4 separate regions of the Homo sapiens genome follow, and all the other regions are linked to region 2. Evidence: promoter capture Hi-C in 16 types of primary human blood cells and fetal thymus (Javierre and others, 2016). All regions are on one chromosome and are shown on one strand. Each heading gives the region's core, a stretch centred on a gene start or on the middle of the fragment in contact. The rest is flanking DNA. Distances are from core to core; before and after follow the strand shown. Region 1 holds the start of ZMAT5 (zinc finger matrin-type 5). Region 2 holds the start of CASTOR1 (cytosolic arginine sensor for mTORC1 subunit 1). Region 3 overlaps NF2 (NF2, moesin-ezrin-radixin like (MERLIN) tumor suppressor). Region 4 holds the start of THOC5 (THO complex subunit 5).

What was found. Contacts are between HindIII fragments. The CHiCAGO score rates a contact against its expected background, and 5 or more counts as called.
Region 1: the fragment with the promoter of ZMAT5 here is called in contact with the fragment with the promoter of CASTOR1 in region 2 in 2 of 17 cell types (fetal thymus and neutrophils); the score reaches 9.4 in fetal thymus.
Region 3: a fragment that was not itself captured here is called in contact with the fragment with the promoter of CASTOR1 in region 2 in 2 of 17 cell types (fetal thymus and neutrophils); the score reaches 5.3 in fetal thymus.
Region 4: a fragment that was not itself captured here is called in contact with the fragment with the promoter of CASTOR1 in region 2 in 1 of 17 cell types (fetal thymus); the score reaches 6.8 in fetal thymus.

The regions. Positions count from the first base shown.
Region 1 is chr22:29,764,321-29,770,184 of GRCh38, forward strand. ZMAT5 (zinc finger matrin-type 5) reads right to left here and starts at 2,687. Exons shown (of 6, transcript NM_001003692.2): 1 at 2,552-2,687. It overlaps UQCR10 (ubiquinol-cytochrome c reductase, complex III subunit X), which reads left to right and starts at 3,049. Exons shown (of 2, transcript NM_013387.4): 1 at 3,049-3,228; 2 at 5,358-5,864. The coding sequence starts at 3,079. The coding sequence ends at 5,399. RefSeq lists enhancers at 1,922-2,571, 2,541-2,770, 2,572-3,221, 3,131-3,180. The HindIII fragment of the contact is 8,045 bases long and covers 1-5,864 here.
Region 2 is chr22:30,286,026-30,292,633 of GRCh38, forward strand. CASTOR1 (cytosolic arginine sensor for mTORC1 subunit 1) reads right to left here and starts at 3,480. Exons shown (of 9, transcript NM_001037666.3): 1 at 3,360-3,480; 2 at 2,681-2,751; 3 at 1,348-1,535; 4 at 1,130-1,262; 5 at 800-923; 6 at 238-351; 7 at 1-73. The coding sequence starts at 3,472. TBC1D10A (TBC1 domain family member 10A) reads right to left here. Exons shown (of 9, transcript NM_031937.3): 9 at 5,965-6,608. The coding sequence ends at 6,350. RefSeq lists silencers at 3,138-3,217, 3,418-3,857 and an enhancer at 4,738-4,797. The HindIII fragment of the contact is 5,917 bases long and covers 1,895-6,608 here.
Region 3 is chr22:29,617,564-29,623,408 of GRCh38, forward strand. The region is part of intron 1 of NF2 (NF2, moesin-ezrin-radixin like (MERLIN) tumor suppressor); the gene reads left to right. Among named protein-coding and RNA genes, the nearest start is that of NF2, 17 kb to the left of the region's middle. The HindIII fragment of the contact is 3,522 bases long and covers 100-3,621 here.
Region 4 is chr22:29,551,911-29,558,226 of GRCh38, forward strand. It overlaps THOC5 (THO complex subunit 5), which reads right to left and starts at 1,847. Exons shown (of 20, transcript NM_003678.5): 1 at 1,761-1,847. It overlaps NIPSNAP1 (nipsnap homolog 1), which reads right to left. Exons shown (of 10, transcript NM_003634.4): 10 at 2,898-4,089. The coding sequence ends at 4,025. RefSeq lists enhancers at 1-669, 2,067-2,764, 2,148-2,217 and a silencer at 1,558-1,747. The HindIII fragment of the contact is 471 bases long and covers 1,816-2,286 here.

The sequences.
Region 1 (5,864 bases), core at 1,437-3,936, 520 kb before region 2:
GGATGCTTTGCAAATAGTATAAAACCACAGTAAGGATAACTCATGGATGTAAAGCATTTCACATTTTACCTTCTGATCCCCTAACCTGGTATTACTGTTGCTCTTTACAGATGAATTAAAAGAGAGTTAAAGCCTGATCAATGTCAGAGTCAGAGGCAGAGCCAGGCCTGCAATCCAATCCCTAGTTTTTGTTTGTTTTGTTTTCATTTGAGCTCCATCACCCAGGCTGGAGTGCAGTGACGCGATCTCAGTTAGTGGCAGCCTCCGCCTCCCAGGTTCAAGCGATTCTCCTGCCTCAGCCTCCCGAGTTGCTGGGATTACAAGCGGGTACCACCACACCTGGCTAATTTTTTTGTATTTTTAGTAGAGACAGGGTTTCACCATGTTGGCCAGGCTAGTCTTGAACTCCTGACCTCAAGTGATCCACCCACCTTAGCCTCCCAAAGTGTGGGGATTACAGGTGTGAGCCACCGCGCCTGGCCCCTAGTTTGTTTTTCATGGAGACGGTCTCACTATACGGCCCAGGCTGGTCTTCAACTCTTGGCCTCAAGTGTTCCTCCTGCCTTGGATTCCCAAAACACTGGGATTATAGGTGTGAGGCACCATCCCCAGCCCAGTCCCTGGTTTTGAATGCCACCCCTATCCGGATGACTCTTCTCAGGCTCATACCTCTCCTCTAAACTACAGATCCATGTCCTCATTTGCCTCTAGACACCTCCACTTGATGTCTGTTGGCTAGCTCAAACTGATGTGGCCAAAACAGAACTTAAGATCATTCTGTTGATTTTAAATTGTTGAGGTCAAAACTTAGATGTCAGCTGGACGCGGTGGCTCACACCTGTAATCCCGGCACTTTGGGAGACCGTGGCAGGCGGATCACTTGAGGCCAGGAGTTCAAGACCAGCCTGGCCAACATGGTGAAACCTTGTCTCTACTAAAAATACAAAAATGAGCTGGGCGTGTTGGCATCCGCTTGTAATCCCAGCTATTCAGTAGGCTGAGGCATGAGAATTGCTTGAACATGGGTGGCAGAGGTTGCAGTGAGCCAAGATTGTGCCACTGCACTCCAGCCGCACAGAGTGAGACTCTGTCTCAAAAAAAAACAAAAAACAAAAAACAAAAAAAACTTAGATATCCTCCTCAATTCCTCTTTCCTGTGCACCCTACACACATCTGCTAGCTTGCTCTGTCTGCCCTCCCTCCCAAATTACATCCCAAATCTGATCACTGCCCTGCTCCACACCCTAACCTAAATTACCACCCATCAGGCCGGGCATGGTGGCTCACGCCTGTAATCCCAGCACTTTGGGAGGCCAAGATGGGAGGATCACCTGAAGTCAGGAGTTTGAGACTAGCCTGGCCAACATGGTGAAACCCTGTCTCTACTAAAAAAAAAAATTAGCCAGGCATGGTGGCAGGCGCCTGTAATCCCAGCCACTCGGGAGGCTGAAGCAGGAGAATCACTTGAACCCGGGAGGCGGAGGTTGCAGTAAGCCGAGATAGCACCACTACACTCCAGTCTGGACGACAGACCGAGACTCCATCTCAAATAAATAACCACCCATCTTCCCTCAAATGATCTACTACAATAACTTCCCCCTTGCGGTCCACTCTCCATAGACCAGCCAGGATGATGACATTAAAGTGCACATTAAATCTTGTCGCATTTCTCCTGAAAACCCTTCAATGGCCTCCTAGTGCAACTAGAAAAAGACAAGACTCCTTGGCCAGACGCGGTGGCTCACGCACCTTGGGGGGCGAGGCAGGAAGATTGCTTGAGCCCAGGAGTTGGAGACCAGCCTGGGCAACACAGTGAGACCCTGTCTCTAAAAACAAAAACCAAAGAAAACAAGACTCCGTAAGGTGGGTTCCAAGGCCAGACATGAGCTGACCGGAGTCAACCTCTTCACAGTCCACTCTACTTCTTTCCCTCAAACATCCCAGGACTGTAGCTGCCTCAAGGCCTTTGCACCAACGTTTTCCTGTTCAACTCTACTATTCATTCAGGTCTCTAGTCAAGTGTCACCCCCCAGAGCAGCTACCCAGGGTGCAATGTCACCACCACTGCCTCTCCAGTCAACCAAAGCACTATCTGTTTGCTGTACTGCATCTCCCCACCCGCCCACTCCGTAGATTGAGCGCTCTGTGAGAGCAAGGACTTTGTTCACTGCTGGGTCCCCAGAGCAGGGACCAGAACAGGCGCTGGGAAAACATCTGTTGAATGCCCCAGGTACTCCAAAGCCCTTGCTCTTTTCAATCCCAAGCAGGTTCCAAGTCTCCAGCCTTCCAAACCAGGGTTGCCCGGTGCGAAGCCCAGGGGTGAGAGGAACAGGAAGCAGGGCAGATCCGTCCCTGCCCTTAATCCAGGGTGAAGGGTTTAACCTCCAGGACAAGACTTTTGCCGCAGGCTCCAGCTCCTGGCCTAGACTTGGGGCTGGTGCAGGGGACAAGGCGAAGAGTTGAGCCAGGGTCTCGGGAACCCAGCTGCCCTCGCCCCTCTATCCACACCCTATCCCAAGAAATGGTGCGTCCCGCCGCAGGGCGTACGCACAGAGAAGGAAGTGTTCAAGTCTTCCAGTGCGGAGAAAAGAGACTAGGACTCGCCCCTCGACGTCTCGCGGAAGGTACCTGGCTCCCCGGTGGCTGCAGCTCCGGGCTCCTCCTCCTGCGTCCTCGCGTCGCGTACTGCTTGCTGGGATTCGTAGTCTCGCCTTGGCCATCAGTTCGCCCTTCCCAGAGAGCTTTGGGAATCTAAGCCGGGACTGGGCGGAGGGCGGGGAGAAGGTGATGGCGCGCGAGGGCTTCTGGGAGTTGTAGTTTGACATATTCTAACAGCCAGGAATTCTGGAGAAGAAAAATTGGGTAATAAATCTTATCAGATTATCTGGGCTGTCCTGATATGAACCTTTTGAGTTTTTTTCCTCATTCCCAGGATAGGAATACCTCTGTGGTTCAAAACACGAAGGCTGAGATTCAGAGGAACTACAAATCCCATAAAGTGTTGCACGTCTAGGGCCTTTGGGGAACGAGGTCGGCCCCAGCGCAGGCGCGGTGGCGCGAGTTGGACTGTGAAGAAACATGGCGGCCGCGACGTTGACTTCGAAATTGTACTCCCTGCTGTTCCGCAGGACCTCCACCTTCGCCCTCACCATCATCGTGGGCGTCATGTTCTTCGAGCGCGCCTTCGATCAAGGCGCGGACGCTATCTACGACCACATCAACGAGGGGGTGAGGGCCTGTGCCATCCCTGACCTTGGACCCGCCTGAGGGGTGACAGTGGAGTAGAGGTGGGATGGGACTCAGTATACTTTTACCAGGAAGGGGGTAAGGGGTAAACCGTCGGCGTCTTCTGTCTCGAGTCCGCCGTCTGTCCCCTTGGCTTGATGTGAATTCTAAAACGTTAAGCGAGGTTAATATATTTCATTTTGCAGGGGTTGTAAGTATTGCTGTGTGCCACCCTACATACCCACTTGCCCATTATCAGAAGCAAAAACTAAAGGCTAGTGAGAGCAAAGGACTTACTAGCTGCACAGGAAGCCAGGGGCAAGTCAGGGCCAGAAACGGGACCCCTGTCTCTCAGAGTTTCAAGGGCAGATTTGAGCAGGCGACGGTCGTGAAAAGGACGTTAGACACCTTAGACGCCGTGGCTGAAGTTTCAGACGGCGCTTCTGGTCCCCAAGGCTTCCCACGTAGACAGTTGGTATTAATGGTTGAGAGTGGGGGCTATGAAATCAGAAAGCCTTGGATAGGAACACTGGTCCTTGTCACTTAACTGTGGCATTAAGTTGAGCAAGTTTCTTCTCTGAACTCCGTTTTAACTGTGAGATGGAGATATTAATAGTAACCTGAGCACGATTGTGAGGATTACATGAGATGCAGGCAGGGTGCCACATGCCTGGTAGGTGGTACCACTGAAAAATAATCATTGCTTACATTCCTCAGGAGAAAGTGGAAGCATGAGGTAGGAATCGCAACACATTTTTGACTTTTATGTATCATGCACTGTGCTAGGTGCAGTGCATGCTTTATATCGCTAAATTATGACTGTGCTGGAGTAGGCCTTATACATATAGCCCTGTTCCACCACTCACTTGTGTTTTTAATTTGAGACTGTCTGACTCTGCAGCCCGGGAAGGCACTGTCCACTAGTGCTATGCTGCCTGTGACCAGTGCAACTTCCTGCCCCATATGAAAGCATTGCTACTGTCCCATCTCTTGCAAGTGGTTCTGTTAACCACTCCCATTGATCTGGAGAGACATCCAAGTATGTTGTTATAACTCACCCATTTTCCTTGTGCTTTTTTTTGTTTTGTTTTGTTTTTTTGAGACAGGATCTCACTCTGTCGCCCAGGTTGGAGTGCAGTGGCATGATCACAGCTCACTGCAGCCTTGACCTCCTGGGTTCAAGTGATCTTCCCACCTCAGCCTCCTGAGTAGCTGGGACCACAGGCATGCGCCACCACGCCCAGCTAATTTTTGTATTTTTTGTAGAGATGGGGTTTCACCATGTTGCCCAGGCTGGTCTTGAATTCCTGAGCTCAGGCAGTCCTCCTGCCTTAGCCTTCTAAAGTACTGGGATTACAGGCGTGAGCCACTGTGCTCAACCTCTTGTGCTTCTGGGAATGAGAATTTCAGCCAATTTAGGTCCCAGGAAATGTCTTAAATGGCTCATGGTGAAATATTTTGGGACTACGCACTTATAATCTCTTCAGTAATACCTGGGAGTTGAAGAACTGAGACATCTTCCAGGCTGTTTTCCTTAATAATTGTGTGTTTTGGGGCACTTCCCTCAATCTCAAACTGAATTTCCTGTGAAATTAAGATCACCCCTTTCCACTTACTTCACCTGGTGATTGAAAGCATCATAGTATTTTATAAATGCCAAGAATTATGCATGAAGGCTCGGCGCGGTGGCTCACACCTGTCATCCCAGCGCTTTGGGAGGCCAAGGCAGGCAGATCACTTGAGGTCAGGAGTTTGAGACCAGCTTGGCCAACATGGCGAAACCCCATCTCTACTAAAAATACAAAAATTAGCCGGGTAGCGCATACCTGTATTCCCAGCTGCTCTTGAAGCTGAGGCAGGAGAATCGCTCGAACCCAAGAGGCTGAGGTTGCAGTGAGCCGAGATTGCGCCACTACACTCCAGCCTGGGCGATAGAGCGAGTCTCCGTCTCAAAAAAAAAATGTGCATCAAGCATAGGATTGCTTCGAGTTTGCCCACCACAAGTGTATCTTTTTAATCAGGACATGGCATGTGTTTCCCCCAAGCTCATTTTAGAGACCAGGGCAGTGGGAGTAGTTGTAAAATGTGAGAGGCAAAGGTCAAAGTTTGTGGCTCTTGTCTTTAAAATGCAGAAGCTGTGGAAACACATCAAGCACAAGTATGAGAACAAGTAGTTCCTTGGAGGCCCCCATCCAGGCCAGAAGGACCAGGTCCACCCAGCAGCTGTTTGCCCAGAGCTGGAGCCTCAGCTTGAAGATGATGCTCAAGGTACTCTTCATGGACCACCATTCGCTGTTGGCAAGAAACGGCTTTACTTACAAAACAGACTCTTTACCTTCTGCTGTGTTTGAAGTATGTTTAGTCAGCATGCTCAGGAAATAAATGTGAATTGCCCTTGAGACCTGCTTCTACATTGGTTGCTTTGTTAACTCTACCTGATCTTCACTTGTCAGTAATTTGAGACCACTTCAAAGCCCTCTGCAAACACCCCAAAGGCAGAATCTGCTATTTTGAGTTTTCCATTAACTTCCAAAGAATTCTGGTTTTCAAAACAGGAGCCAGAGTTGGAGATATTACAGTCAACTTTGGCTTCTAAGCCAGTAATTCCATTCTTAAATACCTCACTGTCTTGGCCATGG
Region 2 (6,608 bases), core at 2,230-4,729:
GGGCTGTCCACCGATGCGCACCATCCTCCACAGCTCCCCCGAGGAGCTGGTCAGCAGGAGGTCACTGGGGAACCTGGGGAGGGAGATGGGTGATGGGCAGGGCACCCCCATCCACCCCTGCCTGACCGTGAGCTCTGGGACAGGTACACCTGCTGACCTCAGAGTCTGATGCCCCACCTCCTCCCTGCCTGGGACTGGCTGGGGCCTGGGGCCCACCCGGGGTCAGGGGTCACCTACTTTTTCTGTGTTTCAGCATCCATGACAATGGAGATATAACCCTCGATGAGGGAGAAGGCAAAGAACGTGATGGAGCTGGGTTCAGGACTGCTAGAGGCTGCCTCCTTGGGGGTGCTGGGGAGGGATGGGAGGTTTAGGGGCTCTACCAGGCACCCAGCCTACTGCCCCTGCTCCCGATCAGCCTCCAGAACCCTGGGAAGGAGCTGGTATGGTGGCCTGGGCAGGCTCTGCCATATCTGCTACCCGCCCAAGGGTCCAGCCCTCTGGAAGGTGTGGGTGGGGATGGGGGAGGACAATGAACCCAGCCTGTGCCAAAAACAAAGGATTCCACGGTGAGAGGGCCAGACCAGGGCATGGCTCAGACGACCCCACTGGAAAGGGATCCAGCTTTGGGGCAAGAACCTTCCCCGAACATCAGTGAAGCACAAGTGAGCATCATGGGCTGCCAGGAACCCCAAGAGAGGACAAGCAAGAGGTGCAAAACTGATAGATGGGCGGAAAGTGGTGGGACAGAGTGTAGGGAACAGTGCTGTGAGGACAAAGACGAAGTTCCAAGGTCCACCTGTGCGAGTAGAAGAGGACATCTATGAGGGTGGTGGCGATGGCTGGAAGCGTCTCAGGGTCCAGTGTGAGGACACAGAAGCGGTTCTGTGGGCTCTGGATGGGATGCACCGTGGGGCTGGGCCCTGCTGGAGGACAGCAGCAGGTGAAAAGGTGTCCGTGGGCTGGGGCGCCCCCTGGTGGCTAGTCAGGGAGAGGCGTGGGCCAGGGGCAGGTCTTGCTATCCAGGAACTGGCCGGGGTCCTCCTGCCCCACTGGGGCCCAAAAGGGAAGGGACCCAGTGGGAAGAGGAGGCCCTGCCCAAGTCCAAGTGTCAGGGGGCGGCCCTCACCATGCTGAGTGCGGGGAAAGCCATTGCTGGAATCATCCCTCGTCACAGGCACAGGCTCTCCGCCCACCTCGCGGTAAATGTCGAACTCCTGGGCCAGCGTGTGGATCACCACGGACAGGTCCTGCTCCCGCACCTGGGCCACAGCAGATGGCACATCACATGGGCTCCCAGGTACCTATATCCACCCTGCTCTGCATCAGCACCAGCAGGAAACTCACCAGGATGAAGTCCGTCTGGTAAGTGGACAGCATCAGCACAGACACGTGGTGCTCGGCCAGTGGCGCGATGACCGAACGGGCGATCTTGGTGACCCCAGCAGCCTGCACTGCCGCACCGCTGTGAGACGACACGTTCAGCACCAGCCATGTGGCCTCAGCTACTTGCAGGAACTCAGATGGGGGCAGCTCTGTGGGCAGGGGACATGTCAGGTCAGGGTCTACAAGGCTGGCCCCTGCCCCTCTCTGAGCCTCAGTTTCCCTTTCTGTGCCTTGGAGGGCTCCATCAAGGTAAGGGCAGGTCTGGAGGCTGGGGCTCCTGAAGTCCCTATGTGTGCAAAGACTGAGAAAGGCTTCAAGTGCTGGCCTGGTGGCATTGAAACTTCCCACTTAAGATCAGAGGTCCAGATTCAGACAGACCTGGGTTCAAATCCCAGCTTTGTTAATTTGTCTTATGACCTGGGGTGGGTGATTTGAGTCTCAGTTTCCTCATCTGTAAAATGGGACGACAATATCTACCTCACTACGGTGTCTTCTGTGGGTTAGCAGAAGCTTTGTACCACATGGCACCACCAGGGGGCATTCGCAGATCAGGTTGGCTGGGGGATTGCCTTCCCCTTTTGCAGACCCAGACTTCTGAAGTAAAAACAGGGAAACTAAGGCCTGCAGTGGAGCATGGGGACAGGCTAAGCTCCAGCTAGCTGGCCTGAGACTCCAAGCCTGTGAGGATGGGCAGGGCCAGCAGCAGGAGGAGGAGCTAGGCGTCAGCTCCAGGCCCCAGGGAGGGCCCAGGCTGGCGTCCAGTCCTGAGCTGGGGCCAGGGCCTGGGTGGCTGCTATTCACCCCAGCACAGCCAGGAGGCCTCCAGGACCCTCCCCTGAGATGGCTGCCTGCTCCTGCATTCCTTCCCTCAGACTCCTGGAGTTTCCAGACCAGCAGGGGAGGAGGTGACCCAAACCAGAGAGTAAGACCAGGAGGAAATAATACCCAGGGATTTCTAACAGCAGCACTTGACTGGAATCATAACAGAGGCCCTTCTGCAGGCCTAAGACTGCTGAGTGCCCCTCAGCGGTTTTAAGTTTATAAAGGCCTCATGGGACCCTATGTATCAGAACCATAACTATACCCATTTTACATAAGAGAAAACAGCTCAGAGAGGGAAAGTGATTTGCTCAAGGGCACACAGCCAGGGAGTGGTGGAGTAGGATTCGAACCCCGACCCATCTGCTTTTAAGGCTTAAGCTCTTGGGACGGATCCCAGCAACTGGTGAGAACCCTACAGAAGGGGAGCACGACAAGCCCCTCCCGTACTCCCGTTCCCCAGACCAACCCCCACCTTTAAAGCCCTCCTCGTCCACCATAAGCGTGTAATCCTCAGGGGTCTCCGTCAGGCTGAAGAACTTGCACCTGGTTGGGGGTGGGGAGCATCTTCAGCTTGGTGTGGAGAACTAGGGGTCGGGAGTGGATTTCTCTCCATCTGCCCCGAGACACCCCCGCGACCCTGGGCCGGGCGCCTTCTTGCCCTCTCGGCCTTTAATTTCCAGGCCAATGGGATGTTAGCCCCATCTCGGGGGTTGGGGGCTACTTTCCGGCCTCCCGACCTCTCCAGGAACCCTCCACCCCTCCACTCCTGGAGGGAGGAGAGGTTCACACCCGCGGCGACAGCCCCAGGGGCGTCGGACCTTGGACCCCCTAGTCCAGCCCCTCTGACATGAAGGGAGGCGTCCTGGAAGGAGCTCCCCGCAGTGACCAGGTAGGAATGCCCCCATTTGACACTACTGAGTTAAGCATTGCCCATCCCAGGCTGTTTGCGCTTTGCCCCTGGGAGGGGGCCTCACGGGGCCGGATAGGCGGCGGTCCCCCAGGCCGGATGGCGGCCGGACGGGGAGAGTCCTCCCCACCCGCTCCCGCCCGCCTGCCTGCCTGCCTTACGGCGATCCTAATCCTCCGACCCTGGCCCGGAGCGAGAGCAGAGCCCCCAGCCCCTATCTGCGCTCCCGAACCCGGGCGCGCACCGGCTGCGGCGGGGCAGGAAGAGCAGCTTGATGAGCGGGTGGGTGTAGAGCCAGAGACCGGGACGGGCGACGCTCAGCACCCGCACCCGGTGTTCTAGGATGTGCAGCTCCATCGCGGCTCGCGCGGACCCGACCCCGCCGCCAACTAGACCCAGGCCGCACGGGAGGCGGGGCGGCGGGGGTGGTGCCCGAGCCTTAAAGGAGCCGCTGCGCTGCCGCGTCCACGCCGCCCGCTGCGAGGCTGACCCGCCCAGCCAGGCGCGGCGTCCGGCTCCTTGACGGCCACGCCCCGCGGGAAGAGAAGCCTATTGGGTGGTCACGCCTCCTCCTAACGCCAGAACCTCATCCCGCTTTCCAGCCAGCCCACCGAGACCGCCCCGAACGGCTCCGCCTTTTTTAGTACTGGCTCGGGGATAGACCCCACCCCGTCTGACTCCTCCAGGCCCCGCCCCTGACGCGCCCCCTCCCTGGGCTCCGCCCTTTCCGCGGAAAGCCAGCTGCGCAGCCGGTGGGAGCATCCCGGAGGGGACGTTTCTGTCCTTCTGGCACACACGTGGGTTTCATGATTGAAGTCCTTGAGACAGAAGGGACACGAAACAAACTGGAGCTCGGCTAGGACCAGAACGCTGCCCCCAAATCCCCGGAGCAATGAGAGGCACAGGTCTGCTGTGCAGCGCTGTCCCCCGGGCGCCTTTCGCTCTCCTGCCTCTCATGGCTGCAGGGGGCAGGGCCGCCAACACAGGATTGCGATTGATACCTACCCTTCCCCGCTTGCGAGGGGGCTGACAAATTGAAACCTGGCCTGGTAGCCCCACTTGTTCCTTTCATCCAACTTTCAAAATAGAAGGCTCCTCACCAGGGGCACACAGAGGTAGAATCCTAGCCACCTCTGCCTGAGCGACATACTTTGGGTTAGGGGGCTGCAGGTGGCCAAGGCCTAAGGCTTGAGGTCCCTCGATACCAACAAAACCCGGAAGTGCTTGAGCCAGTAATGCCCAGTGCTCAGACTTTGGTGGGGGAGGCCCTTGCAGCTGAGGTTCAGTGAGTACTCAGACCTCAAGCCTGAAACTTGAGCCCCAAAGCCTGCAGCCCTTAGCTAGCCTGTGCACATCTAAACTTGCTTCAGGTTCAAGGAGGCCCCCGGCACTGGCAGACACCCCAGATCTTATCAGGCCTTCACAGGTCTAAGACCCCCCCAAGGCTAAGCAGGCATCAGCATGTCCATGTTGGCTCCATGCAGGGCTGAGAATGCTCCAGGGGACCCTTGCCTGGCCTGAGCACCCTGAGGCCTCAGATGTGAGGCTTTGAACCAAGTAGACTAAAGCAGGCCTCAGGCCTGATTGGGACCCAGCAGGCCTAAGCAGGCCCTCTGCCTGCTCTGGAGCCCCCACCATAGGCAGATGGAAGCCAAGCTAAGCCTCCTCCCTGGACTCTCGGGCTTGACACATTCCTGTGAAACACTATGTAGCCACCACATCCTGGCCTATCCCCTGGAGGACTAGGGGAAGGAGGAGCTTCTCAAAGGCTGAGCCCATCTCATCAATGGCAGGTGCAGACAGAGTGGGAAACCATGGGGCTGAGGGGAAGGAGGCAGGAAGTGGAGTGGCCTACCCTGATAGTCTCTTGAAACCCTTCACCTCCCTAGGCCTCAGTATCCCCAGCTGTACCAGGACAGGATGTTCCAGGCCCAGGCGAAGGCTGAAAGCTCCCAGGGAGGCTCTGCTCCTCCCTCTCCTGCCCCCTCCCGCTATGGCCTGGCCTGGCCCAGCTTGGTCATCTGCCAGGAATAGCGCTATTGTTTGACTGGAAAAGCTGCTTCCTCAGCAGAAGGGGGGCCTCTCCCAGGGACACCCTGTCCTTGCCCTCACCAGTCATCAGGTTGTGACCGCAGTGCCTGCCTGGGCCCTCAAGGGCAGAGTCAGGTCTCCTGGAGCCCTGGTCAGGAGAGGAAGCTGAGTGAGGGGCTCTTGGTGCAAATCCGGCTGAGGCTTTCCCATTCAGCTCCTGTTTCCTCGTCTGTTAAATGGGGCTAATGGAGCCTACTTGACCAGTCCAGCCTGGCACTTGGCAGTAAATCGAAGGCGGCATTTTATCAAAGAACCACAATTCGCCCCCCTCCCTGAGGGCCTGGGCTGAGCCTGTGAGGACATTCGTGGTGCTCCACTCCGGGCCCCGTCCCTGACCCCAACCCAGAATCAGCTCTCAGAAACTTACTGGAGCCTGAGGTAGCATCCAGGCCAGGACTTGAAGGAGGAAGACCCTGAAACCTCCTCCTTAGGAGTCCCTGCCCCCTTGGTGGGTGGGTGAGGACCAAGGCCTAGGGAGCACGCCCTGCTCTGCCCAGCACTGAGCTCCAGCCCTGGTGTCCCTCATCTGTGGCAGAAGGTAGACATAAGGCAGTGGGGATGGGGTGAGTGAAAATGGGGGTTAAGAATGGGGGCTGACCAGGGACTTGGCATGTCCTCTGGCAAAGGTACCTCTCAGAGAGGCTCTGGTGCTGGGCTGGGGCCCAGGAGAAGGGGCTCTGTAGGGCAAAGAGAAGAGATGCTGAGCACCAAGGTGACCAAGGTGGTACCCCCTTCCCAGCCCCTAGCTGTACACGAGCTCTCTATACAAGGCTGTTTATTTCTGTACAAAACCATGTTTCTATTTTACACAAAGAACACCCCACCCTTTCCCCTCACACCAGCACCCTAACCCTGGGGAGCATCCCCCAGGAGGAGGGGGCTGAAGGAGGCCCCACCCCCCAGGCCCTAGCTTCTGCCTGCCCTGGCTGGGCCAGCCTGAGTGCCACTGTAAAGAAAATAAATAAGGAGGCTCAGGCAGAATCTGTGTTGGACCAGGCAGAATCTGTGTTGGACCAGCCAGACTCCAGCCCAGCCCAGTGGCCAGGCAGCTTGGCCCTCAGAGGGTGGGCAGGATGTGGAATGTCAGTTCATGAACCGTGTAGTTATATGGAGACCCCGCCCTGGAGGCCTTAGCTGCCAGGGTTACAAGTAGGTGTCCTCACTCTCTTGGGACGTCAAGCTCTCCTGGGAGCGGTGGTGGGCTGAGACCTGGGGAGCCAAATCCTGAGGGGCTGAGTCCTTGGGGGCTGAGTCCTTCGGGGGCACATGCTGTGGGGGACATGCATCTCCTGCAGCGGCCACCACCATGGCTTGATTTGGGGCTGGGGGCTTCTCCAGCTGCCCTCTCCCCTTCATCTGTTTCCGCTGCTCCTTCTGGGCCTGCTTGGGTGGCTTGGGCTTG
Region 3 (5,845 bases), core at 611-3,110, 670 kb before region 2:
TTTCTCCCTACCCAACCTCCATGACCACATTGAGAACCACTGATCTATAGAAAAGGATAATAGTAGTGACATTCAGAGAGGCAGGATGGTATAGTGCAAAGCTTGCCAAACTTTAATTTTACATAAATGACCTGGGGAATCTTGGAAAAATGTAGGTTCTGATTCAGTAGTTCTGGGATGGAAGTGAGAATTTTGTATTAATAACAAACTCTCAGGTGATGATACCTGTGCCACCGGCCCAAGGACCACACTTTGAATAGCAGAGCAGTAGTAGAAAGTGCATCGGCTTTGAAAGAAGACAGACCTGGGCTTGAATTCTAGCTAAAATACTTCTACTTTGGACAAGTTACATAGCTCTCTGGACCTTATTTTCTCATTGGTAAAATGAGACTAATAATGCTGACCCTGCAGAGTTCTTATAAGGATTCATGGAATGCATAGTCCCTGGCAGAAAGGAAGATATAGGAGGGACTATAATTGGCCTAAAGTAGGAGGCTCTGGTTACCATGGGCACTGCCCTGTTGTGATTTATCAAGCCATTACACCTCACTGAACCTCAGATTTCCAGTGGAAAAACCTGTTTGTAAACCATGTTCACATATTCTGTTGAAAGTAATCATAGTTTGATTTATGATGATAGGGCTCAGGTAAGTGATTAGTTTTATTCTCCTGCCTGCTTTTTATGTTGTCCATTAATGAGCAAGGTGCTGATGCAAGGAGATGGCAGATGCATTTTGAAAAAAAAGGAGAGAGAGAGTACTTGTAGAATTCTTGACTTTATTGAGGTCAAATGTAGGTGGCTTTTCAAGAAGGACTCAATTTCAGAACCGGTGGCATTTAACATATGAGTCATGTTACCTTATGCTAATAAGTTCAGACTTTTTTTCTTTTTACTGCAGAGATAGGGGGAAAAATCTCCTGCACTACTTGCTGCATTGCTCAATTGGCTGGATGCTTTGGAAGATTTTTCCACTTGAAAGATTTGTTGTTTGTCATTTTGAGAAAGTGGGTGCTGAGTGTAATTTGCCAGGAGGCTAAACGGCTATGTTATTTCTTATCTAGGCTGGAATTTTACTCTAATAATTCAATCTATCAGTAAGAAAAGCCAAATAGGAAGTTGTAAGAGATCCTAATACTATCTTATATTGAAAACAAAGCCTCCTTCTCCTGTTGTTTGGCATTCTAAATGTTTTCACATACCTAAGTGAGATTATGATTGTATTAAATACCAACATTGCAGATCATTCCAGCATACAAGTGGACGTAAGTTGTCCATAACAGAAGGAACTTTCTAAAGGGGAAGACAGATAGAACAATTCTGGCATTTTCAGTAAAATCTTAAATCCTAGGCTCCCTAGGACCAGGCAAACCATCCCCTTCAAGGATGTAAACTCTGGAGGGCAGTGTAGTTGTACAGGGTAATAGTTCTATACTCTATATTAGTGCAACAAGAAACTTCTATTCCTGTTTCAGAAGTAAGACTGTTATCTACCTTTTTTTTTTTGAGATGGAGTTTCACTCTTGTTGCCCAGACTGGAGTGCATGATCTCAGCTCACCAAAACCTCTGCCTCCTGGGTTCAAGTGATTCTCCAGCCTCAGCCTCCCGAATAGCTGGGAATACAGGCATGTGCCAACACGCCCTGCTAATTTTTAGATTTTTAGTAAAGACAGGGTTTCTCCATGTTGGTCATGCTGGTCTCGAACTCCTGACCTCAGGTGATCCACCTGCCTTGGCCTCCCAAAGTGCTGGGATTACAGGCACGAGCCACTACGCCTGGCCTGTTATCTACCTTTTTACCGCTGTGCTCTCCCATGGGTTTTTTTTGTTTGTTTGTTTGTTTGTTTGTTTTGAGATGGAGTCTCGCTCTGTTGCCCAGGCTGGAGTGCAGTGGCGTGATCTCAGCTCACTTCAACCTCTGTCTCCTGGGTTCAAGCAATTCTCCTGCCTCAACCTCCTGAGTAGCTGGAATTACAGGTGCCTGCCATCATGCCAGGCTAATTTTTGTATTTTTAGTAGAGATGGGGTCTTACCATGTTGGTCAGGCTGGTCTTGAACTCCTGACCTCATGATCTGCCTGGCTCGGCCTCCCAAAGTGCTGGGATTACAGGCATGAGCCACCGTGCCCGACCTCTCCCATGGGTTTTAAGTAGTGCCTATGGATGGCATGGGTGCCACTACTCAGGTCTAGGACAGGCAGGGGTGAGTGATGAGTGCGTGCGTGCTGATGAAGGGGTGCGAAGAAACAGATGCTGGCTAGTGCTGCCCTCCACTGGACCCCATTCTGCCTTTGTGTGGGACAAAGGGCTAGGGACTAGCAGTTACTTTGTGCTAGGTACCATGCTAAATGCTTTAAATGCACACTACCTCATTTGATATAACAGGGACTCATTTATTCATTCAAGAGATATTATAAAATAGGCTAGGCACAGTGGCTGACACCTGTAATCCCAGTGGGAGGCCGGGGTGGCCAGATCACTTGAGGCCAGGAGTTCGAGACCAGTTTGGGCACATGGTGAAATCCTGTCTCTACTGAAAACACAAAAATTAGCCAGGCGTGGTAGTGGGCGCCTGTAGTCCCAGCTACTCCGGAGGTTGAGGCAGGAGAATTGCTTGAACCTGGGAGGTGAGGGTTGCAGTGAGCTGAGATCGCGTCACTGCACTCCAGCCTGGGCGACAAGAGCGAGACTCTGTCTCAAAAAAAAGACAATAATTAGGCGTGGTTGTGCGCACCTGTAGTCCTAACTACTTGGTAGGCTGAGACAAGAGGATCACTTGAGCCCAGGAGTTCGAGGCTGCAGTGAGCTATGTTCGTACCACTGCATGAAGCCTGGGTGACAGAGTGAGACTCTGTCTCTTTTATTTATTTGTTTTTTAAATAATAGAGACAGGGTTGGCCGGGCATGGTGGCTCATTCCTGTAATCCCAGCACTTTGGGAGGCTGAGGCAGGTGGATCCCTGAGGTCAGGAGTTCAAGACCAGCCTGGCCAACATGGGAAAAACTCGTCTCTACTAAAAATAGAAAAATTAGCCGGGGGCAATGGCATGTGCCTGTAATTCCAGCTACTTGGGAGGCTGAGGCAGGATAATTGCCTGAGGTGGAGGTTGCCTGAGATTGAGCCACTGCACTCCAGCCTGGATGACAGGGAGAGACTCCGACTCCAAAAAAAAAAATAGAGATGGGGGTCTCCCTACGTTGGTTGCTCAGGCTGGTCTCAAACTCCTGTGCTCAAGGGATCCTCCTGCCTCAGCCTCCCAAAGTGCTAGGATTATAGGTGTGAACCACCACACGCAGCTCTGATTTACTGGGTGCCCACGTTGACCAGGCAGGGAACACCTCCTAGCAGTGATCAAGGACTACTTTGGACCTAGGTTCTGTAACTGACTTCATCTTTAAGTGGGGAAACAGAGGCTCAGACAGGATACATAGCATGCTTAAAGGCTTAGTGCAGCCACTATCTATTCTGAAAGAGGCAGAATAGGACAGGGACAGGTAGGTAGTGAGAGAATAGGGAGAATAGATGGGCACACCCTTTAACTTAATATCGACCAGTAAAGCCTGCAGTTGCTTATTTGAACCTCACATTGAGGCTGACATGTAAGTTGAGCAAATCTTAACTCAAGCTTCAGTTTCCTTGTTGGGGCCGCTGAGGCAGCATAGCCTAGAGATTACAAGCATAGACTTCAGAGTTTGATTCCTGGCTCTGCCTCTAACCAGCTTTGCAACCTTAAAGCTCCTTAACCCCCTCACATGCCTCTGTTCCCTAACTGTAAAATGGTGAATGTAATTAATTCTTCCTGCATAGTGTTACAAGAATTAAATTTGAGTAATTACTGGTAAAGTACGTAGAATAGTACCTAACACAAGATAAGTGCTATATATAATGGTTGTTACCTAAAGAAATAACAGCCTGGGCAACATGGCGAAACCCTATCTCTACAAAAAATACAAAAATTAGCCGGTTGTGGTGGTGTGCACCTGTGGTCCTAGCATCTCGGGAGGCTGAGGTGGGAGGATCACATGAGCCTGGGAGGTCGAGGTTGCCATAAGCTTCCTGATTGCACCACTGCACTCCAGCCTGGGTGACAGAGTGAGACCTTGTCTCAAAAAATAAATAAATAAAATAAATTAAAAAAATAAAAAGGAAATAAGTTCAGTGCCTGTCGTTAGCTTGCTCCCTTTCTCAGCCTCTCCTCCACTTCCTCACGCACCCTCTTGCTCTGAGCCTATTATCCTGGTCCCTCCTTCACACTGCCACATCTTTGCATAGGCTGTTCTCTTTGCCTGGAATGCCATTCTCATTTGTTGCTTGGCAGAACTGAACTCATTCTCCTTCTAGGCTCTGCTCAAGGGTTTCCTCTTCTTTGTGTCCAAAGTCACCACATAGCTTCTAAGTGATGGGACTGAGATTTGAAGCCAGGTCATCTGTCTTTCAGGCCAGCCCTCTTTCCACTACCCTATGCTACCCAAATAGGAAGCGTAAAAGAGAAGTAGGAGAGAAAAAGTTAGAAACCTGGAGAGAACTTAGGTATTTGGTAAACAGGAAAAAGAAAGTGGAAAGAAGAGATCATTTGAAGGACTTCCTCAACTTAACAACTATTTGCCTATGGCATTATTTTATTGCATTTGGTGTATGATACTATCTCAAAAGCATTTTGTAAACTTGCCAGTGGCTTACATTTTTGCCGGATGAATGACATGACTAACGATCCGTGCTACATTACCTCAGTGTCTAGTTTGTCATTTTGAATCAAGTGGACATTTTCTGTAAGTGAATCATTTTCACTTGCTCATGATATAATGAGAATTCCTTACCTTTGGCTTAAAATGAGGCTTATGTTATAACAGTTAAGCATTGTCTAGTTGCATATTTAACATAGTCAGAATGCTCCTGCCTGTATTCAGCCTGGTGTCTTATAATATTTGGTATGCCCACCTAGATAGCAATTGGTAACATCTTTATTCTGAGACTCTTTCATGTATGGATTTTGAAAAGTTAGTTAACTGTTCAGACGACATTGTTTCTTTGACTTTTACAATCCGCTTCCCTCTCACTGACAGTTCAGTTTTGGAAGACCCTGTATTTTTTTTTTTTTTTTTTTTTTTTTTTGAGACAGAGACTCGCTCTGTCGCCCAGGCTGGAGTGCAGTGGCGTGATCTCTGCTCACTGCAACCTCCACCTCCCGGGTTCAAGCAATTCTCTTGCCTCAGCCTCCTGAGTAGCTGGGATTATGGGTGTGCACCACCACACATGGCTAATTTTTGTATTTTTAGTAGAGACGAAGTTTCACCATGTTGGCCAGGACGGTCTCGATCTCCTGACCTTGTGATCAGCCTGCCTCGGCCTCCCAAAGTGCTGGGATTACAGGCGTGAACCACCGTGCCCGGCCTTTTTTTTTTTTTTTTTTTTTTCGAGATGGGGTCTCACTCAGACTGGAGTGCAGTGGTGCTATCACAGCTCACTACAGACTTGACCTGCTGGGCTCAAGTGATTCTCCTGCCTAAGCCTCCCAAGTAGCTGGGACTACAGGCACATGCCACCAATACCTGGCTAATTTTTTTGAAGAAATGGGATCCCGCTATGTTGCCTAGGCTGGTCTGGAACTTCTGGGCTCAAGCGATCCTTCCGCCTCAGCCTCTCAAAGTGCTGGGATTACAGGCATGAGCCAACATGCCCAGCTAGAGATGTGTGTGAATTGGTAGCTTCAAGCTAGATATTGGAGGCTCATGAAGCCCAGGTTAAAGAGGCTTGTATTCATCAGATGCGATGAAGAGCTTTGAAGTTTTTACTAGAAGTGTGATTTAAAGTGGTTGGCATGCAAAATGATTTGGAACGTTTGGGGTT
Region 4 (6,316 bases), core at 801-3,300, 740 kb before region 2:
GAGTGCCTGCAATTGCAGGCGCGCGCCGCCACGCCTGACTGGTTTTCGTATTTTTTGGTGGAGACGGGGTTTCGCTGTGTTGGCCAGGCTGGTCTCCAGCTCCTGACCGCGAGTGATCGGCCAGCCTCGGCCTCCCGAGGTGCCAGGATTGCAGACGGAGTCTCGTTCACTCAGTGCTCAATGGTGCCCAGGCTGGAGTGCAGTGGCGTGATCTCGGCTCGCTACAACCTCCACCTCCCAGCCGCCTGCCTTGGCCTCCCAAAGTGCCAAGATTGCAGCCTCTGCCCGGCCGCCACCCCGTCTGGGAAGTGAGGAGCGTCTCTGCCCGGCTGCCCATCATCTGGGATGTGAGGAGCCCCTCTGCCCGGCTGCCCAGTCTGGGAAGTGAGGAGCACCTCTTCCCGGACCCCATCCCGTCTAGGAAGTGAGGAGTGTCTCTGCCCGGCCGCCCATCATCTCAGATGTGGGGAGCACCTCTGCCCCGCCGCCCCGTCTGGGATGTGAGGAGCACCTCTGCCCGGCTGCGACCCCGTCTGGGAGGTGAGGAGCGTCTCTGCCCGGCTGCCCCGTCTGAGAGGTGAGGAGCCCCTCCACCCAGCAGCCGCCCCGTCCGGGAGGTGGGGGGCAGCCCCCGCCCGGCCAGCCGCCCCGTCCGGGGGGGAGGTGGGGGCCAGCCCCAGCCCGGCCAGCCGCCCCGTCGGGTCGGGGGTAGGGGGGCGCCTCCGCCTGGCCGCCACCCCGTCCGGGAGGTGGGGGGCGCCTCTGCCCGGCCGCCCCTTCTGGGAGGTGAGGAGCCCCTCTGCCTGGCCGCCACCCCGTCTGGGAGGTGTACCCAACAGCTCATTGAGAACGGGCCATGATGACGATGGCGGTTTTGTCTAGTAGAGAGGGGGGAAATGTGGGGAAAAGATAGAGAAATCGGATTGTTGCTGTGTCTGTGTGGAGAGAGGTGGACAAGGGAGACTCCATTTTGTTCTGTACTGAGAGAAATTCTTCTGCCTTGGGATGCTGTTGGTCTATAGCCTTACCCCCAACCCCGTGCTCTCTGAAACATGTGCTGTGTCCACTCAGGGTTAAATGGATTAAGGGCGGGGCAAGATGTGCTTTGTTAAACAGAAGCTTGAAGGCAGCATGCTCCTTAAGAGTCATCACCACTCCCTAATCTCAAGTACCCAGGGACACAAACACTGCGGAAGGCTGCAGGGTCCTCTGCCTAGGAAAACCAGAGACCTTTGTTCACTTGTTTATCTGCTGACCTTCCCTCCACTATTGTCCTATGACCCTGCCAAATCCCCTCTGCGAGAAACACCCAAGAATTATCAATAAATACTAAAACAAACAAACAAACAAATTTTTAATAAACGGTAGTAGAGGTGGTAAGTTGATCTGGCAAAGCCTACAAAGACCGGACCTGAAAGGCTTAAGTGTGGGAAATCCTGACTTTGGCAACACAGTAGAGTGCCTGGCACACCGAAGAGCACGATATATGTGAGCTGTTACCATCACCACCACCCCCACCCCCATCAGGCTACATTACCACAATCAAGAGGCTCCAACGTGAAGCCTGAGGATGCTGCAGCGAACACTTTTCGGATGAGGTAACAGCGCAGCGCCGAGAGGCCGGGGACCGCGGGTAGTGAGGGAGGAGAAGCCGGGTCAGACCCCAGCCCAGGGGCGCCCTTTGGGCGATCAGCACCTCAGTCCCGGAGCGCCCAGCCCCGCCCCATCTCCCAGCCCCACTGCCCTTGTCCCCTCCTCACCTCACAGCTCCAAGAACCTGGCACCGGGAGTAAGCCACTGCCGGAGGCGGAGCAAAGCTTGCCCGCGCACCATAGAGAACCGGAAGTAAGGAAGGGGCGGCCGACCGGAAGCGAGGCGTAGAGGCCGGAAGCTCAGCGCGGAGGCCCCCGAGGGAGGTGGTGGCGTGGTGAGACTGTAAAAACAAAGACACATGCTTCTCGTTCACTGTGCCCAGGGCCTAAGAGAGTGTCCAGCAGCTAGTGGGCGCTCCACCGAGTAGTTGAATTAATGTTGTGTTATGTCCAAGATAACACGAAAGAACCTGGTAGCGCGGCGGGGAAGATTTCGGCGCTAGAGGATTTGCCTGCATAACCTTACTTCTTAATTATTATTTTTACCATAATATGCCACGCCAGTGAAGGCAACAAGTCAGGGAGGGCATTAACCTCATTTTACACTTGGCTTTTTGAGGAGTGCATCACCAGTTTCTCCATTTTAGGCCTGACTTGCCCAGGACAGAGTCACAACTCTAACGCAGTATTTGAAAGCTTCAGGTATTTCCTACCCCTGGCATGAACTGTACAAACAAGGCCCAGGATTTTTTCGTGTAAATCCTCATCTGGAGCTAGTAACACGTGTCCTGAATCCCTGGTTGTACGGGGCCAGTTCCTTCTCCTTCCCAGGAGCAAGGAGGAAAATACTGGCTCTTTTTTATTTTTATTTTTATTTGAGACAGAGTTTTGCTCTCTCACCCAGGCTGAAGTGCAGTGGCGCAATCCCCGCTCACTGCAAACTCCGACTCCAGGGTTTAAAGGATTCTCCTGCCTCAGCCTCCTAAGTAGCTGGGATTACAGGCATGCACCACCATGCCCAGCTAATTTTTGTATTTTTAGTAGAGACAGGGTTTCACCATGTTGCCCAGGCTGGTCTTGAACTCCTGACCTCACTCAAGTGATCTGCCCACCTCGGACTTCCAAAATGCTGGGATTACAGGCGTGAGCCACTGCACCCAACCAGTACTGACTGTTGAGAATAGCTCAAGAACACAGTACCCTCCAGGAGGGTAGATCTGCCATGTGGGACTAAGCCCACCAGCTCTACTGTGCCCTGCCTCAGGCACCTGCTAAAGTTCCTTGCAGATGAAGAAAAGACACTGATTTATAGTAAATATTTAATTGTTTCCATCAGCAATTCCAGCACAAGTTTTCCTGGATGGTAGGCAGAATCAAGCTACCCAAGGGTTCATGATGAGGTATGGGGGTCACTGAGGAGACCCCCAGAGTCACTGACCCCTCCCGCCACCTCCACACACCAGGTGGCCCTGCAGAATGAGGGTTGGGCTGATAGAATGTCAATTAGGGGAGACAGGATACAGGGTGAGGGAACAGGGTCTAGCTTGTATATTTGCCTGCAGGAAGGAGGGAGGGCAGGAGAGACTCTGCATAGAAGGACTGGAACTACACATTTAAGTTTTCAACCCCAATATGCAGGGGGAAACAGCCAAGCCACTCTCCATCTGTCTAGTATTAGGAACCTCTCTTCAAGTGGTCTTTTGTCATCTCTGTTCTTCTTCCCAATTCTGTATTCCAGATTCCAAATTCTACAATTGAAACCCAAGTTCTGAATTCTAAGTTCTACCTTCCGAGTTCCTGTTACGTGTCTGTCTCCTGCCCCTAAATCTTTCCTGGCTCCCATCCCTTTCCCCAGCCCCTCTGGGCAGAATGTCTGAACCTCCTCCTGACCGTGGTGACGAGGTTTGTTTGTATTTGTTTTTTTGTTTTGGCAGTTCCAGGCTTTTCTCCAGCAGGAGGGACTTGGCTCAGACTGTCCAGCAAGTGGGTGGCCCAGTGGAAACCAGGGAATTCCTGAGGGCCTGGCCTGGCCTCCTCTCTTCCCACCCCACCTCTAGCCACTGGACATACTACCTTTTGTGCAACTAAGCTAAACAGAGGATTTCCAAGGGTGATAACTGGGGACTGGTGGCCTTGAGATGAGGAATTTTAGAAGATAAATGAAGGCCTAAAAGATCACTATCTTTCATTCAGGGAAATCAGAAACTACTTCTAGCAGGGGGAGGGAGGCAGGCAGGGAAAGTAGAAAGGGCCTGGGCAGAGCTGTAATCCTCAGAACTTGTCAGCCTTCAGTTCCCCCTTGTCTGAACTGAGCACTGCCCCTCAGAGTCCTCCCAGAGCCAAGACAAAACCAAGACAGCAGGACCAGGAGTGCCACTGTCTGTCGGGGTTGCCTGAGGGAGAAGGGGAAGGAGGTGGAGGTGTAGGCAGCATCACTGCAGAGGCGAGATCTTCAAGGGGATCATGATCCTAGACTCCATGTGTCGCACCAGGGGGACTGCGGAGAGAGAAGGCAGAGGTCACACAGGGGGCTCAAGCAAGCCAACAACCTCCCCTGGCCCCACCCACACATGCTGGCCTTTGAGTGGGCAGGAGGAGGCCCCAGATGCTGCGACAGGAATGTCCCATTGCCCTCGTGGAAGGGCCCATGAAGAGCACCAGATCCCTCAAATTATGGGATAAGACAGGACTTTGGTGGTGATGAGAATAACATTTTCTTAAATTTTAATAGTTATCTGTTGGCCAGGCATGGTGGCTTGTGCCTATAATCCCAGCACTTAGAGAGGCCAAGACAGGCGGATCACCTGAGGTCAGGAGTTCGAGACTAGCCTGACCAACATGGAGAAACCCTCTCTCTACTAAAAATACAAAATTAGCCGGGCGTAGTGGCACATGCTTGTAATCCTAGCTACTCGGGAGGCTGAGGCAGGAGAATCGCTTGAACCCGGGAGTCAGAGGTTGCTGTGAGCCGAGATCAGGCCATTGCACTCCAGCCTGGGCAACAAGAGCAAAACTCCGTCTCAAAAAAAAAGAAAAGAAAAACACTGATTTAGACCAACTGCCTCGTTTTACAGATAGAGAGGGTGCAGCCTAGAGAAGGTCAGCTCCAGGTCATCCAGGAGGTTAGACTCTTTCCTCCAGCTCAGAGCTTTTCAAACTTTAATGTGCATACAAATCACTTGGCAGTTCTTGTTAATGTGCAGATTCTGATTTGGTAGGTTGCAGGAAGCCTGCGATTTGTTATTCTTGTTTGTTTCTTTGTTTGAGATGGAATTTCACTCTTGTTGCCCAGGCTGGAGTGCAATGGCACTATCTCGGCTCACTGCAACCTCTGCCTTCCGGTTTCAAGCGATTCTCCTGCCTCAGCCTCCCGAGTAGCTGGGATTACAGGCATGTGCCACTATGCCTGGCTAATTTTGTATTTTTAGTAGAGACAGGGTTTCTCCATGTTGGTCAGGCTGGTCTTGAACTCCTGACCTCAGGTGATCTGCCCACCTCAGCCTCCCAAAGTGCTGGGATGACAGGCGTGAGCCACTGCGCCCAGCCGAGATTTGTCATTCTTAACAAGCTCCCAGGGGATGCCAATACTGTCAGTTGGGACCACACTTGATTTTTTTTGTTTTTTGTTTTTTTTGAGACAGGGTCTCACTCTGTCTTCCAGGCTGGAGTGCAGTGGCAGGTTCTCGGCTCAATGCAACCTCCGCCTCCTGGGTTCAAGTGATTCTTGTGCCTCAGCCTCCCGAGTAGCTGGGATTACAGGCTTGAGTTACCATGCCTGGCTAATTTTTTTTATTTTTAGTAGAGACGAGGTTTCACCATGTTGCCGAGACTGGTCTCCAACTCCTGGCCTCAATTGATCCACATACCTCAACTTCATAGTGCTGGGATTACAGGTGTAAGCCACTGTGCTTGTCTTGTTTTTTATTATTTTTATTTTTTATTTTTGAGATAGGGTCTCACTGTTGCCCAGGCTGGAGTGCAATGGCACAATCATGGCTCCCTGCAGCCTCAAACTCCTGGGATCAAGTGATCCTCCCACCTCAGCCTTCCAAGTAGCTGGGACTACAGATGGGAAACACCACGTCCTGCTAATTTTTAAAAAATGTTTTGTAGAGATGGGGTCTCCCTATGTTGCCCAGGCTGGTCTTAAACTACTGACCTCAAGTGATCCTCTTGCCTTGGCCTCCCAAAGTACTAGGATTTCAGTTGTGAGCCACCATACCCAGCTGGGACCACACTGAATAGCAAGGCTCCTGCTAACTCCTTCAGCAGACACATTCTCCCTCATACCACCTGGTAAGTGATCACTGTAAACTTCTCAATGGCAAGGACAGGCTCTTGTTCATTTATGTGCCCCTCAACCACCTACCTACCACAGTTCCCGGCACACAGTGAGGGCTTAATTAACACCCACTGACTCTAGGTGGTTTCAGGTTCCTAGCAAAGTGGCAAACACCTTGAGCAAAAAACTTGTTCAAGGCTGGGCACAGTAGCTCATGCCTATGATCCCAGCACTTTGGAAGGCTGAGGTGGGAGGACTGCTTGAGCCCAGGAGTTTGAGACCTGCCTGGGTGACATAGTAAGACTGCATCTCTACAAAAACAAAAACCTTATTCAAAAACATTTCCTGCATGCTTCCTTTGTGACAGACACTGGAGAAAGCACTTTTCATAAATGAGTTTGTGGGCCAGATGTGGTGGCTCATGCCTGTAATCACAGCACTT